Linked DNA regions of Homo sapiens: region 2 is linked to region 1. Evidence: promoter capture Hi-C in 16 types of primary human blood cells and fetal thymus (Javierre and others, 2016). All regions are on one chromosome and are shown on one strand. Each heading gives the region's core, a stretch centred on a gene start or on the middle of the fragment in contact. The rest is flanking DNA. Distances are from core to core; before and after follow the strand shown.

The links. The method cuts DNA at HindIII sites, captures the fragments that hold promoters and counts their contacts. A CHiCAGO score of 5 or more calls a contact.
Region 2: a contact is called between the fragment with the promoter of DHX37 here and the fragment with the promoter of RBM19 in region 1, in 1 of 17 cell types (naive CD8 T cells). The highest score is 12.3, in naive CD8 T cells.

What each region holds. Positions count from the first base shown.
Region 1 is chr12:113,965,075-113,972,677 of GRCh38, forward strand. RBM19 (RNA binding motif protein 19) reads right to left here and starts at 1,251. Exons shown (of 24, transcript NM_016196.4): 1 at 1,118-1,251. The coding sequence starts at 1,153. RefSeq lists enhancers at 1-601, 602-1,529, 1,488-1,557. The HindIII fragment of the contact is 5,534 bases long and covers 1-2,147 here.
Region 2 is chr12:124,984,835-124,992,437 of GRCh38, forward strand. DHX37 (DEAH-box helicase 37) reads right to left here and starts at 4,297. Exons shown (of 27, transcript NM_032656.4): 1 at 4,083-4,297; 2 at 1,262-1,431. The coding sequence starts at 4,188. RefSeq lists enhancers at 2,217-2,760, 7,381-7,603 and a silencer at 4,001-4,210. The HindIII fragment of the contact is 16,586 bases long and covers 1-6,974 here.

The DNA.
Region 1 (7,603 bases), core at 1-2,500:
AACTTGTCCAACATGGCGAAACCCCATGTCTCTACTAAAAATAAAAAAATTAGTCGGGCTTGGTGGCGCGTGTCTGTAGTCCCAGCTACTTGGGAGGCTGAGGCAGGAGCATCGCTAGAACCCGGGAGGCAAAAGTTGCAGTGAGCCGAGACTGCCGAGATTGCTCCACCGCAGTCCAGCCTGGGAGACAGAGCCAGACTCCGTTTAAAAAAAAAAAACAAAAAAAGAAAAAAACAAAAAACAAAACCAAAAAAAGCCATGAAAGAGAGAGAAAAAAAAGAGATAAGACAAACAATGATAAGAGAATCAACTACACTTGAAACACAACAAAGCTGAATTTGGGAGGGAAAGGAAGTGCAGCTACGCTAAAAATCCTCATCCCACAAAGCGAGGCATCAAGAGACACTGTCTAACCTGATGGAAGGAGCAGTAATCCATTTAAAAACAAAAAAACAAAACAGAACAAAAAACAGCGAGAGAGAGAAAAAAGGATGATCCATTCGAGCCCACCGCATCTAATCATCTAATATTACGTACATTCACCTATTTTGCCTACCACGTGTCGGGTTCTGCGCTGGGCTCCAGGGAAACAAAAAAGTATGGCTGGGTCACCACTCCCCACTTACTGGATAAATGCTGTAAAGCCCTTTACCCACTCCGTATTCCTACTTGCCCTAAGGATGGGAGTGGGAATTGGAACGCAGGTCCGCAGATTAATATTCCCCATGTCTTCCCCAACAGTTTCCAGACTGGGAGAGGAATATAAATACAGTGTCGGACCATGTCCCGGGTCAACAACTAAAAAACAGTGATCGAATGAAAGAGGTTGTGGGAGCAGGGTATTCGCCACAAGGTGGGAGTTGTCATCTCCCCGAGAAGAGGTGTGTTAGGAGTCAGGTACCAAACAACCGGCCGTGAAACCGTAAGCAGTCACTATTCCTCTTTCCTCGGGATCAAATGGGGATAAGCCCAGGATCCCGCCCCCTTTGAGTTCAGAATTGGCCCGGAGTCCTGCCCCAGAGCAAAAATTCTTCGATCACCTCCAGGCATCTCTTCCCTACCTCACAGCTCCCGGCTGGTCTCATTTCAGATTCCCAAGTCCTGCCTCTGCACTCACCCCATTCGGGAGATTCTTCACGATCAGTCGCGACATGGCGCAGGGTCCCCGCTGTTTTGATTCCAACACGACTGGTCAGCGTCTTCCACCAAGTTTCACGCTACCGCCCTGGGCGCCGCCATCTTTACCGAGCCGGAACACAGTCACGTGGCTGAGACCTTGGCCTGACCTGTCCGGAAGTAGGCGTGGCTAATCCAAAACTACTCAGGGAGGTCACACCCCACAAGGGGTGGGCCTGGGCGCTTGCATTTTGCGCAGGCGCAGGGCCTTGGGCGGATTCTGTGAGACGCCAATGCAGCGGAGAAGGCGGCAGGGGGCGCCGGTCCCTAACATGCGCCGGTTTAGCTCGGTGTTAAGGGTCGCGCCAACCGGGCAATCGCGTTCTCTCCTTTTTCTTATTTTATTTTTATTATTGAGCCTTAGGACTCCCCTGAGAACGGGGGCAAGATTAGGGACCCTTGCCTTCCTCGTAGAAATGGGGAAAGTGAAGTTTAGAGAGATTGCCAGCCAACACAAATCAAGTATTGAGCCTTTTGTGTAAATACTTGGAATGAACATGTTGGAAATAAACGCTCTCATTTTGCAGGCAGATAAACTGGGAATCGTGCGTGTAAAGCAGCTTGCTCAAAGTCTTATAACTATGAATTGGAAAGTCAGATTCGAGCTAGGGACTGCCTAGGGCCCTACAATGAGTCTCTACGCCTTCAACCCCAGCCCCACAAGCATTTTGCCTCCCTTCCTAATGTTTGGAACTCTCAGCTGGCCAATCTTCTAGCTGAGAGATCTTGGCCAAAATGGCCTCTGAGCCTTTGTGTCTACTTCTATAAAATGGGAATAATTCTTTATTATGCTAGGGGTTAAGGAGGTGAGAACGTGAAAGGGATGTTATTTTCCTATTGCTTCTCTGAGCATTCTCGGTACCTACTCTTGGATGGAGACATCCTATGAAAACCCCTATTTTCACTCTTAAATGACGGTATTTCCTTTCTGTTTCCCCACAGTGCCTCAGCTGCACTGGACGTTGCTGCCAAGCTTCTGCAATTTCCTTCACCTAAAAGACATTCCGTCCCCCCTTCTTATTGTTAACAGCTTTATCACAAACCATGCAATTCACCCACTTAAAGTGCACAATTCAATGGTGCTGACTATATTTACAGAGGTGTGCAGCCATCACCACAATCAATGCTAGGACATTTTCATTACCCCCAAAGAAACACCACACCCTTTAGCTATAACCTTCCAATTCCTCCCTCTCCCTTCCCTCTGATAACCACTAATCTACTTTCCGTCTCTATGGATTTGTCTGTTATGGACATTTCATGTAAATGGAATAATACAATATGTAGTCTTTTGTAATTGACTTCTTTCACTTAGCATAATGTTTTCAAAGTTCTTCCATGTTGCAGCATGAATCAGCACTTTATTTATCTGTTTATTTATTTGAGACAGGGTCGGGCTCTGTCACCCCGACTGGAGTGCAGTGGCACAATCTCAGCTCACTGCAACCTCCGCCTCCCAGGCTCAAGCCATCCTCCCACCTCAGCCTCCTGAGCAGCTGGGACTACAGGCACATGCCACCATGCCTGGCTAATTTTTTTTTTTTGGTAATTTTTTGGTAGAGGCGAGGTTTCAACATGTTGCCCAGGCTGGTCTTGAACTCCTGGGCTCAAGCAATCCACCTGCCTTGAACTTTCAAAGTGCTGGGATTACAGACGTGAGCCACCACACTTTTTTTGCTGAATAGTATTACATATATGGATGTATTACATTTTATTTATTCATCAGTTGATGATGGACATTTGGGTTGTTTCCGCTTTGTGGCTACTGTGAATAATCTTGCCGTGAACATTTACCTGTAAGTTCCTGTGTGGGCATATGTTCTTATTTCTCTTGGATATATTCCTAGGAGTAGGATTGCCTGATCATATGGTAACTCTATGCTTAACCTTTTTAGAACCTGCTAACCTGTTATCCAAAGTGGCTTCCCCATTTTATATTCCTACCAGCGGTATATGAAGGTTCAAATATCTCCACATCTCCTCCAGTGTTTGTTATTGGGTCTTTATAATCATAGCCACTCTAGTGGGTGTACAGTGGTGACTCAATGTTTTGATTTGCATTTCCCCGATAACTAATGAAACAGCATCTTTCATGTGCTTTTGGCCACTGGAATATCTTTCTGAACCCATTCCCATCCCCTCTCTAAGACCAGCTCAAACATGGCATCCTCGAATATGCCTCTTTCCTACTGAGCCCCAAATGCAGGGAGCTCATGCATCTGCCACAGCATAAACCTACAGAACTCGCTGGTGAGGAGCGCACAGTGTAGGTTCAGAGTTATAGATGAGGCCACTTGTTCTTTCTACATTATGTTGCCATAGGGGCATCCTTAGATCCATCTTTGCAAAGCATCACACTGGGCACCAGGAGGAGACAGGTAATAGGAGTTCATTAAATGCTAATTGTAAATTAAGGTCTGTCCATTCAACAGAATTCTATGCAGTTGTTAAAAAACGGTAGGTATGTAGCTATAAATGTTTTTGAAGGAAATGCATCAGTCAGCAGGACACAGAGGTATACTCAAAAGGATTTAACAAAAGCAAATCTGGACAAAAAGCTATTTACAGAAGGGTGGGCAGTGTAGTGGGATGAATGATCCCCTGTCCCCTCACCACCACACACACTGGGGGCATCCTGACCCCTGGAAGCTGTAAATGTGACTTTATTTGCAAAAAAGTGTTGTATTAGTTTGTTCTCACGCTGCTAATGAAGACATACCTGAGACTGGGTAATTTATAAAGGAAAGAGATTTAATGGACTCACAGTTCCACATGGCTGGGGAGGCCTCACAATCATGGTGGAAGAGCAAGGGATGTCTTACCTGGTGGCAGGCAAAGAGAGAATGAGAACCAAGTGAAAGGCTTTCCCCTTATAAAACCATCAGATCTCGTGAGACTTATTCACTACCACGAAAACAGTATGGGGAAACCACCCCCATAATTCAATTATCTCCCACTGGGTCCCTCCCAGGACACGTGGGGATTATGGGAGCTACAATTCAAGATGAGATTTGGTGGGGACACAGCCAAACCATATCAAGGGTCTTTGCAAATGTACTTAAGGGTCTCAAAATGAGATCATCCTGAATTATCCTGGTAGACCCTAAATCCAATGACACATGTCCTTTTAAAGGACACACAGAGAACGTCATGTGTAGGTGGAGGTAGAGTCTGGAGTGATGCAGTCACAAGTCAACGAAGACCTGGAGCCACCAGAAGCTGAAAGAAGCAAGGAAGCGTTCTCCCTTGGAGGTTTTGGAGGGAGCATGGCCCTGCTGGTGCTTTGGGGGATTCTGGCCTCCAGAAATGTGAGAGAATAACTTTGCATTGTTATGCCATCTAATTTGTGGTAATTTGAGACAGCACCTGCAGCAAATGAATACAGGAAGGGTTAAGGGAACCAACAAAGGATGGCCAAACCCCAGGGCCTGGCAACAGTGGGGAGCTATCACCACCCCTGGGGCTGAAGGGCAGAGTAGGACATGTCATTCCTGAGCTTCAGTGATGCCAGGAGCCATGGAAGAGGGACGTACTTTAAGGACTAGAGCTATAGAGAGATACAGCCACTGTGGAACCACAGGTGTGTGTGTGTCGGGGATAAATACACTGTCCCCTCTTTCTCTTCCCAACTGCAGTTTCCTACTGGAGCCTCCCCTTGGCCGAACCAATGGGAAGCTGGAGGCATGATCACAGATGTTGCAGTGCACACAGATTGCATCTGGGGCACAGAGCAAAGTGGAGGAGCAGGCTCAGGGAATGGGAGATGGGCTGTTAGAGAAGAACTAGCACATGGGACATGGGACAATCTCCAAAATATATTGTTAAGTGAAAACCAGCAATATACTAAATAATGTATTATGTATGCTTTCACTTAGGTAAAAACAAAACACACACACAAAAAAAGGAGGGAGATGGGTGAGGATACATAGATACTTGTCATGTTTGTAGGCCAGGGTAGTCGTAAATTTCCAAATGTATTGTCTTGCAGTTCTGAAGGCTAGAAGTTCGAGATGAAGGTGTTGGCAGCGCCGGTTCCTTCTGAGAGCCGTGAGGTTGAATCTGTTCCTCCCTGTCTCACTTCTGGTGGTGTGCTGGCAATCTTTGACACTCTTTGGCCTGTAGACATGTCACCCCGATCTCAGCCTTCATCTCCACATGACAGTCTCCCTGTGTCCATGAGTTCATGTTCAAACTTCCCCATTTTAAAAGACATTGGATTAAAGCTAATTCTAATGACCTCATTTTAATATAGTTACCTCTGTAAACACTCTATTTCCAAATAACATCACTTTGTGAGGTATGAAAAGTTAAGACTCCAACATAGGAATTTGGAGGGGACACTATATATGATTTATGTAAGCAAAGGCGATCTCAAAAGATACATGAGGAAGTGGTAACAGCAGTTGCTTCTGGGGAGGGGACCGAGGAAGTGAGTATACGGATGGATGGAAATGTCCTTTACCTTGAGTAACCTTTTATAATTTTGATATTTCATTATGAAAAAATTACCTATTATTTTTAATACATTAAAATGTTAATCATGTATAAACTACATCTGCATATATTTATACTTAACCATAGGGTAAAGTCAACAAGCATGTATATTAATTGTGGGCATTTCTGCAGGATGGCTTTGGAGGGGTGAAATTGTAGGGAGCCCAGTAAATCTTTATGTATTTATTTTGGGTTTTGTCTTTTTTTTTTTTTGAGACGGTAACTGGGATTATAGGTGCACACCACCGTGCCTGGCTAATTGTTTGTATTTTTATTACAGATGGGTTTCACTGTGTTGGCCAGGCTGGTCTCAAATTCCAGACCTCAAGTGATCCACCTGCCTTGGCCTCCCAAAGTGCTTGGATTACAGGCATGAGTGACTGTGTCTGGCCTTTTTTTTTTTTTTTTTTTTTTTTTTGAGACAAGGTCTTGCTCTGTTGCCCAGACTGGAGTGCTGTGGTGTGATCAGGCCTTACTGCTGCCTTGATCTCCTGAGCACAAGTGATCCTCCTTCCTCAGCCTCCGAAGTGGGTGGGACTACATGCATGCATTACCACACCCAGCTAATTTTTAAATTTTTTGTAGAGACAGGGTCTGGCTTTGTTGCCCAGGCTGGTCTCAAATTTCTGGGCTCAAGTGATCCTCTCGCTTTGGCCTCCCAAAGTGCTGGGATCACAGGTGCACGCCACCATGCCCGGTCTGTATATGTTTTAAATCAGAGATTGGCAAACTTTTTCTTAAAAAGTCAGAGAGTATTTCACTATGTGGTCTCTAATGCAACTTCTGCATCCTGCTACTGTATTTTGAACACATCCAGAGCTAACATCTGTGGCCGTGTTCCAATAAAACTTTATTTACAAAACCAGGAAGCCACCCCATGAGCTATAGTTTTAAGTTACAGGATTATGGGGTGTATTGATTTTCTAGGGCTTCTATATCAAATTACCAGAAACTGGATGGCTTCAAACAACAGAAGTGTATTCTCTTGCAGTTCTGGAGGCCAGGAATTTAAAATCAAGGTGTCAGCAGCGCAGTGGTCTCTCCAAAGGCTCAAAGTGGAAGGATCCTTTTTTGTCTCCTCCAGTTTCTGGTGGCGGTAGGTATTCCTTGGCTTGTGGCTGCATAGCGTCCGTCTCTGCCTCTGTTTTCACATGACCTTCTCCACTCTGGTGTCTGAGTCAAATCCACCTCCCTATGCTTCCTCTTAGCAGGACACCTGCCATTAAGCTTAGGACCCACTGTAACTCCAGGTCAATCTCATCTTGAGATCCATAGGTGATTATATCTGCATAGACCCTTTTTCCAAAAAGAGTCACATTCACAGGTTTTGAGGATTAGGATGTAGGCATATCTTTTGGGGGCTGCTGTTCGACCCATGAGATCTGCTTGCTTTGTAGTAGTCTACTCTGAAGATCAGATTTCACCCTCTCTCTGTCTTGTGTAGACTGTCTATTCAATTAAAACACATATGCATGTAAAAATGTACCCTCAAGCCTGGAGTCGATGACTTACGGGTCACTGTGTTTCAAAGTCAACAGATATTTATTGTTATGTCTTTAATTAAATAATAACTGGAGGGTTGTTTCCTGCACACTGTGATATTTAACAGATATTTATTGATATGTGATATGAATTAAATGACAACTGGGGGGTTGTTTGCTCTAAACCGTGACCCTCGTTAGGGTGGGCTGGGGCAGGCTTTATGAGGCAGCTCTGAGATATTAGTTTTACAAGAGGGCCAATGTTGCCCAGCCAGTCCTAGTTTCACATACTTTTATTATTTTCATGAACTGCCTTTATTAAAACATACAATTCAATGTAGCCTGCCCTAAAAAAATTCACAAATCAGAAGGTCTTTCAAAGGTATTAAAAGAAAATGGAATGCCAGTTACGAATCCCCACATCCCAATTCTGGGTCCAGAAAATATGGTTG
Region 2 (7,603 bases), core at 3,047-5,546, about 11 Mb after region 1:
CCAGAACTTGCGAACGTGACCCTATTTGGAAAAAGGTTTTGTAGATGTAATTACGTAATTACGTGAAGGATCTCAAGATGAGATGATCCTGAGTATCTGAGCGCGACCTAAATCCAATGAGAAGCGCCCTTCGAAGAGACACACGGAGGAAAGGCCGAGGGAAGAGGGAGGCAGAGATTGGAGTGACGCAGCCACAAGCCAAGGGAACGCCTGGAGCCGCCAGGAGCAGGAAGAGGCCAGGAATGACCCTCCCCTGAGCCCAGTGAGGAGCACCGCCCTGCCAATACCTTGATCTCGGACTTCTGGCCTCCTAAGCTGGGAAGGAACAAATTTCTATTGTCCTAAGCCCCTCAGTTTGTGGTCATTTGTATGACATCCCCAGGAAACTAGTACAGATTCACTGTATGTGGGATTTGCTTCAAAATGACCCAGAGGTGGGAAAGTGACCAGCAGTGGAGATAATCCAAGATTGACCAGGGGCTGATCAATGTTGGAGCTGGCGATGGGCACATGGGAGTTCATCATACTGTTCTCTTTACTCTTGCAAATGTTTGAATTTCCCTTGCAAATGTTTGAATTTCCCATGACAAACTTTTTTCCTCTATGAAAAAATTAAGGTTGGCTGGGCATGGTGGTTCACGCCTGTAATCCCAGCACTTTGGGAGGCCGAGGCGGGCGGATCACGAGGTCAGGATATCAAGATCATCCTGGCTAACATGATGAAACCCCGCCTCTACTAAAAATACAAAAAAAAAAAAAAAAAATAGCCTGACGTGGTGGCACGCGCCTGTAATCCCAGCTACACAGGAGGCTGAGGCAGGAGAATCACTTGATACCAGGAGAACCCAAGATCATTTCACTGCACTCCAGCCTGGGCAACAGAGCAAGACTCCATCTCAAAAAAAAAAAATTTTTTTAAGGTTTGGTAGAGCCAGAAAAGATGTCGGGGGTGGGGGAACAAAACAAAAAAGAAAAAAAAATTAAATTTAAATTAAAAAAAAAAAAAGAAGAAAAAACAAGGAAAAAAGTTTGACATTCTCCGGAACAGTTCAGTTCAGTTCCTCTGCCATAGTAGCTGCATTTCAAGTGCTCAACAGCAATATGTGGTTAGTGGCTACCGCACTGGACCATGCACTGGAATTTTCCTCATTCCAGAAAGTTCTATTAGTTGCACCACAGAGACACCCTCAGGAGGAGAGAGACCCCCCATCTCTCTCTATGCTGGAGAGCCACTTGCAGACCCTGCCCGAGTGGGGTGTACCTGGCTCTTTTTCTCCTTCTGTTCTAAGATTTTCTGCAGCACTTTCTTCTCCTTCTTGGTCAGAGGCTTCTTCTCCTTCTTCGACAGGGGAGGGGCTTTGGTCTTCTTTTTCTTCTTCCCCGGTAGAACGAGCGCGTTGCTTGCATCAACTCCCTTCAACGTGTCCTTGTCTGAGAGAGCACAGTTATTAAGTCCCCATTCTCCTTGAGGTAGCTCTGGTCCCGCCTCCCACAAGCCCCCTGACTTGCATGGGGGCCTCCTGAGTCTGCACACAGGAACAGGGGGATCTGTGAGCTCAAATCTATTTTCATAACAATACTATGATGTTCTCAAGGCTTGGCGCAGGGGCTCATGCCTGTAATCCCAGCACTTTGGGAGGCTGAGGCAGGTGGCTCACTTGAGGTCAGGAGTTCGAGACCAGCCTGGCCTATGTGGCGAAACCCTGTCTCTACTAAAAATACAAAAATTAGCCAGGTGTGGTGGTGGGTGCCTGCAATCCCAGCTATTTGGGAGGCTGAGACAGGAGAATCTCTTGAAACTGGGAGGTGGAGGTTGCAGTGAGCCGAGATCTTGCCACTGCACTCCAGCCTGGGCGACAGGGTGAGACTCCATCTCAAAAAAAAGAAAACCCCCCAAAAAATACTATGATTTTCTCTTTTTGTTTTTTTGAGACGGTGTCTCACTTTGTCCCCCAGACTAGAGTGCAGTGGCGCAATCTCAGCTCACTTCAACCTCCGCCTCCCAGGTTCCAGCAATTCTCCCGCCTCAGCCTCCCAAGTAGCTGGGATTACAGGCATGTACCACCACGCCCCAGCTAATTTTTGTATTTTTAGTAGAGACGGGGTTTTACCATCTTAGCCAGGCGGTCTCGAACTCCTGACCCCCAAGTGAGCCACCCGCCTCAGCCTCCCAAAGTGTTGGGATTACAGGCGTGAGCCACTGCACCCAGCCTGATGTTCTCCTAAGAGTGTACGGTGGGGCCGGGCGCGGTGGCGCACGCCTGCAATCCCAGCACTTTGGGAAAATCACCTGAGGCCAGGAGTTGGGGACCAGCCTGGCCAACATGGCAAAATCCCGTCTCTACAAAAAATACAAAAACTAGCCAGGTGTGATGGCATGCACCTATAATCCCAGCTACACAGGAGGCTGAGGCACGAGAACTGCTTGAACCCGGGAGGTGGAGGTTGCAGTGAGCAGAGATCACGCCACTGCACTCCAGCCTAGGCGACAGAGCAAGGCTCCATCTCAAATAAATAAATAAATAAAAGAAGGTAATCTGAGTCATGTTCTTATGAGATTCCTCTGGCCCCTGAGAAAGGCAGGGATACATGGAAATGTCCTGTTCTGATGTGAGAAACAACTTTCCCCAAATCTCTGGGTCTGAGAGACCTCAGCCCCTCTGCTCAGGTGGTCCAGTTCCAAGTGTCAGCCCAGTGTCTACGGCTGTCTTTGAGGTGCCATCCTGAATTGTCACTGCCATCATAACGGTTGTCACCTGTCCTGGGACACACCCCACCTCTGTAACCTTTCTTTACTTTTCAAAGCAACATATTTTCCCAAATTACCATCTCCAAAACTCTGATAGGAGGTAAGACGGCTACTACAGGTTAAATATCCCTTTCCAGAAATGCTAGGAACCAGACCTGTTTTAGCTTTAGGAACATCTGTATTCTATTCACTGGTTGAGCATCCCTAATCTAAAAATTTGAAATCTGGAATGCTCCAATGAGCATTTCCTTAAGTGTCATGTTGACACTCAAAAACTTTTGAATTTTGGAGTATTTTGGATTAAGGCTGCTCAACGTGTGCTACTGGTCCCATTCTGCAGATGTGAAAACGAAGGCACAGAGATGTTAGGGGATCTGCCTCAACTCCCAGCCTGTCTGTGGAACTTTTTTTTTTTTTTTTTTTTTTTTGAGATGGAGTCTCGCTCTCTCACCCAGGCTAGAGTACAGTGGTGCGATCTTGGCTCACTGCAACCTCCGTATCCTGGGTTCAAGCCATTCTCCTGCCTCAGCCTCCCAAGTAGCTGGGACTACAGGTGCCCACCACCACGCCTCCTCTGCTCTAAATGCTCCCATGGCTGCCCTCTCCCGTAGAGAAAAAGCCCCAGTCCTCGCCAAGACTGCAGTCCAGGCCCGACCTGCCCTGGCCCCCTGTTTTTTCTCTCATCTCCAGGCAGCCACTCAGGTCTCCTTCAGATCTTGACTCTAACAGAGTGATGTCTTCTCCAGCAACTCTATGGGATGCTGCAACCCACCCAATGGCCTCTTCTGTTTTATCTGCTCACTATAGCCGCATAAATTTCTATATGTTTATTCTTTGCCTGTCTCCTCCTATACAGCAGGTAAACTCAGGGATTTTCTAAAAATCTCCCTTTCTGCTATGTCTCCAGTGCCTAGAATAGTGCCTGGCATGTAATAAGGGCTACTCCTAAAAAGGGGTCTGAGAGAAATGTCAGCCAGCCTGGAGCTGAGCAGACAAGACTGGGCTGAAAATACACATTTGGGGGTCGCTGGAGATTATAAAGAGATTATAATCGAAGTCATGGGAAGGGATGGAACTACTCCTGTTTTTTTTGCCAAATTCTCCATGTTACTATTTGAGGGCGAGAGAAATCCCGGGTATTCCATATACACTGTTAAAACTAGGCTGTCACTAAGCCCCTCTCCTTTGGATCATCTGGAATGGGGGGACCCATTCCCCCATTCCAGATGATCCATCCCACCCCTCTGGGATCCCCACCCGAGAGTCCTGAAGGCAGGGCACAGGCCGCCCTGGGAAATCTCCGAAATCCAGCCCCGGTCCGGGGATGTCTTACCCTCCAGTTCCAGCTGCACGGGGGGCGGCTCGGGGGGGCCCTTCGAGGGTCCGGGGCCCGCCTGCTGGCGCCCCTTGATGTTGTAGCGCCGGCGCAGCTTCCCCATGGCGACTAGGCCAGGGTGGGCGCTCCAGCGGCCGGACCAGCAGAGCAATCCGAAACCCAGCCCACGTGGGTTCCCAGACCACCAACTCCGGCCGTGAGACTTCCGGGTTGTGTTATCGCGAGAACTGTAACTGACTTTGCCGCTGAGGGGCGGGGTTGCAAGAGAAACCCAGCGAAGAGGAGAGGCGGAGCCGGGCCGGGCAGGGGGCGGGACTATTTAGAGAAGTAGGCGGGGCCTGAGGTCCCAGCGGAGGCCGGAGTTTAAGTCCTGGGCTGTTCTCGCTTGGGGTAGTCTGGGTTTAAATATGAATTATATCTACTGATACTAATTTGGCTTCTTGGGAGTGGAAGTGTTTTGCCACCTTTTAAAATATACCCCGCCCCCAGTACTCCAAACTTCTTCCCCCCAACCCTGGTTTGCGCATCTGTATTTTCTGATATTCCTACAAGAAACGTATTAGTCGTGTACTTTTAAAAAGGCACCAAATATTTCCATCACAGGGATAGATGGAAGATCTAAAAGGAGGCCTCTACGGGCGCGGTGGCTCACGCCTGTAATCCCAGCACTTTTGGAGGCCGAGGCGGGCGGATCACGAGGTCAGGATTTCAAGACCAGCCTGGCCAAGATGGTGAAACCCCCGTCTCTACCAAAAATACAAAAAAAATTTAGCTAGGCCTGGTGGCAGGCGTCTGTAATCCCAGCTACTTGGGAGGCTGAGGCAGAGAATTGATTGAACCCGGGAGGTGGACGTTGCAGTGAGCCGAGACTGCACCACTGCACTTCAGCCTGGGCAACAGAGCTAGACTCTGTCTCAAAAAAAAAAAAATAAAGTTGTCTATTACATAACTTTAAATTCCCATTACCGCATCACATTGTAACACACTGGGAAACAATGCATTATTATTATTATTGAGACAAGGTCTGGCTTTGTTGCCCAGGCTGGAGTGTAGTGGAGCAATCTCGGCTCACTGCAACCTCTGCCTCCCGGGTTTAAACGATTCTCCTGCCTCAGCCTTCCGAGTAGCTGGGACTACAGGTGCCCGCCACCACCCCCAGCTAGTTTTTGTATTTTAGTAGAGACGGAGTTTCACCATGTTGGCCAGGCTGGTCTCAAACTCCTGACCTCGTGATCTGCCTGCCTGGGCCTCCCAAAGTGCTGGGATTACAGGCATGAGCCACCGCGCCCGACTTTTTTTTTTTTTTTTTTAAGAGATGAGATCTCGCCCTGTGGGCCAGGCCAGAGTGCAGTGGTGCAATCACCACTCGCTGCAGCCTTGACCTGTCCTCCCACCTCAGCCTCCTGAGTAGTTATGACTACAGGCACACACCACCACGACGGGCTAATTTTTCTATTTTTTTGTAGAGATGGTGTCTCCCTATGTTGCTTAGACTGGTCTCAAAATTCTGGGCTCAAGGGATCCGTTTGTCTCGGCCTCCCAAAGTGCCGGAATTACAGGCATAAGCCACTGTGAAGGCCTTAATGAATGACGTTTAAAAAAATCATAATTAGCGTATCAAATCTATGGGGTTTTTTGTTTGTTTGCTTGTTTTTGTTTTTTTGAGACAGAACTCTCCCTCTGACGCCCAGGCTGGAGTGTAGTGGAGCAGTCTCGGCTCACTGCAACCTCCACCTCTCGGGTTCAAGCGATTCTCCTGTCTCAGCCTTCCAAGTAGCTGGGATTACAGGCACCCACCAAGATGCCCATCTAATTTTTGTATTTTTAGTAGAGATGGGGTCTCACCATGTTGGCCAGGATGGTCTCAAACTCCTGACATCAAGTGATCGGCCCACCTTGGCCTCTCAAAATGATGAGATTACGGGCCTGAGCCACTGCACCCAGGCTCAAATCTGTGTTTTTATGGATTTTGTTGCTCAGGATGATAGTGATCTAAAGTTTCTTCTTTAAATATGTTTATTTAAATAAATTAAAAGTTTAAGAAACGTTTAAAAAATGTTAAGTAGGTAGTAGTACACTTGCCTATATTTCCTTCTAAAATATAATATATCAGTGAATTACCTTCCAGAAGGTATAGACCATTCTAGACAGCAAGAAGAAGGCAGATACATAACAGCATGGATGGATCTCACAAATATAAAGTTGAACAAAAGCTGGGCGTGGTGGCTCACGCCTGTAATTCCAGCACTTTGGGAGGCCAAGGCAGGCGGATCACCTGAGGTCAGGAGTTTGAGACCAGCCTGGCCAACATGGCGAAACCTGTCTCCACTAAAAATACAAACATTAGCCGGGTGTGGTGGCGCGTGCCTATAGTCCCAGCTACACGGAAGGCTGAGGCAGGAGAATCGCTTGAACCCCGGAGGCGGAGGTTGCAGTGAGCCGAGATCATGCCACTGCACTCCAGCCTGGGCAACAGAGCAAGACTCCGTCTCAAAAAATAAAAAATAAATAAAAAAAAAAGTTGAACAAAAGAAGCCAACCCCCAGAGTACTGTGTGGTTCATTTACATAAACTTCAAACACAGGCAAATGAATCCCCTAAATTTTAAGAGGAACATAGTGAATGGGAGGGGACAAAGGGAGGCTTCGTGGGGGAACTGGTAATGTTTCGTTTCTTGATTTGGGTGCTGGTTACCTTGGGTATTCAGTTTGTGAAAATTCATAAAAATTTATATGATTGTGTATTTTTCTGTATGTTATACCTTAATTAAAAAGTTTATTATTATTATTATTATTATCATTTTTTATAGAGATAGGTTTCACTATGTTGGCCAGGCTGGCCTCGAACTCCTGTGTTCAAGCAATCCTCCTGCCTTGGCCTCCCAAAACAAGCTTGTGCCACTACACCTGGCGTAAAAAAAGGTTTTTGTTTTGTTTTGTTTTGTTTTTGGGACGGAGTTTCACTCTTGTTGCCCAGGCTGGAGTGCAGTGGCTTAGTCTCGGCTCACTGCAACCTCCGCCTCCCAGGTTTAGGCGGTTGTCCTGCCTCAGCCTCCCGAGTAGCTGGGATCACAAGCAGGCACCACCATAACTGGCTCATTTTGGATTTTTTTTTTTTTTTTTTTTTTTTTTTGAGACGGAGTCTCGCTCTGTCGCCCAGGCTGGAGTGCAGTGGCACGATCTCGGCTCACTGCAACTTCCGCCTCCCGGGTTCACGCCATTCTTCTGCCTCAGGCTCTGAGTAGCTGGGACTACGGCGCCCGCCGCCACGCCCGGCTATTGTATTTTTAGTAGAGACGGGGTTTCACTGTGTTAGCCAGGATGGTCTCGATCTCCTGACCTCGTGATCCGCCCGCCTCGGCCTCCCAAATTGCTGACCTTGTGATCCGCCCGCCTCGGCCTCCCAAAGTGCTGGGATTACAGGCGTGAGCCACGGCGCCTGGCCTCATTTTGTATTTTTAGTAGAGACGGAGGGATTTCTCCATGTTGGTCAAGCTGGTCTCGAACTCCCGACCTCAG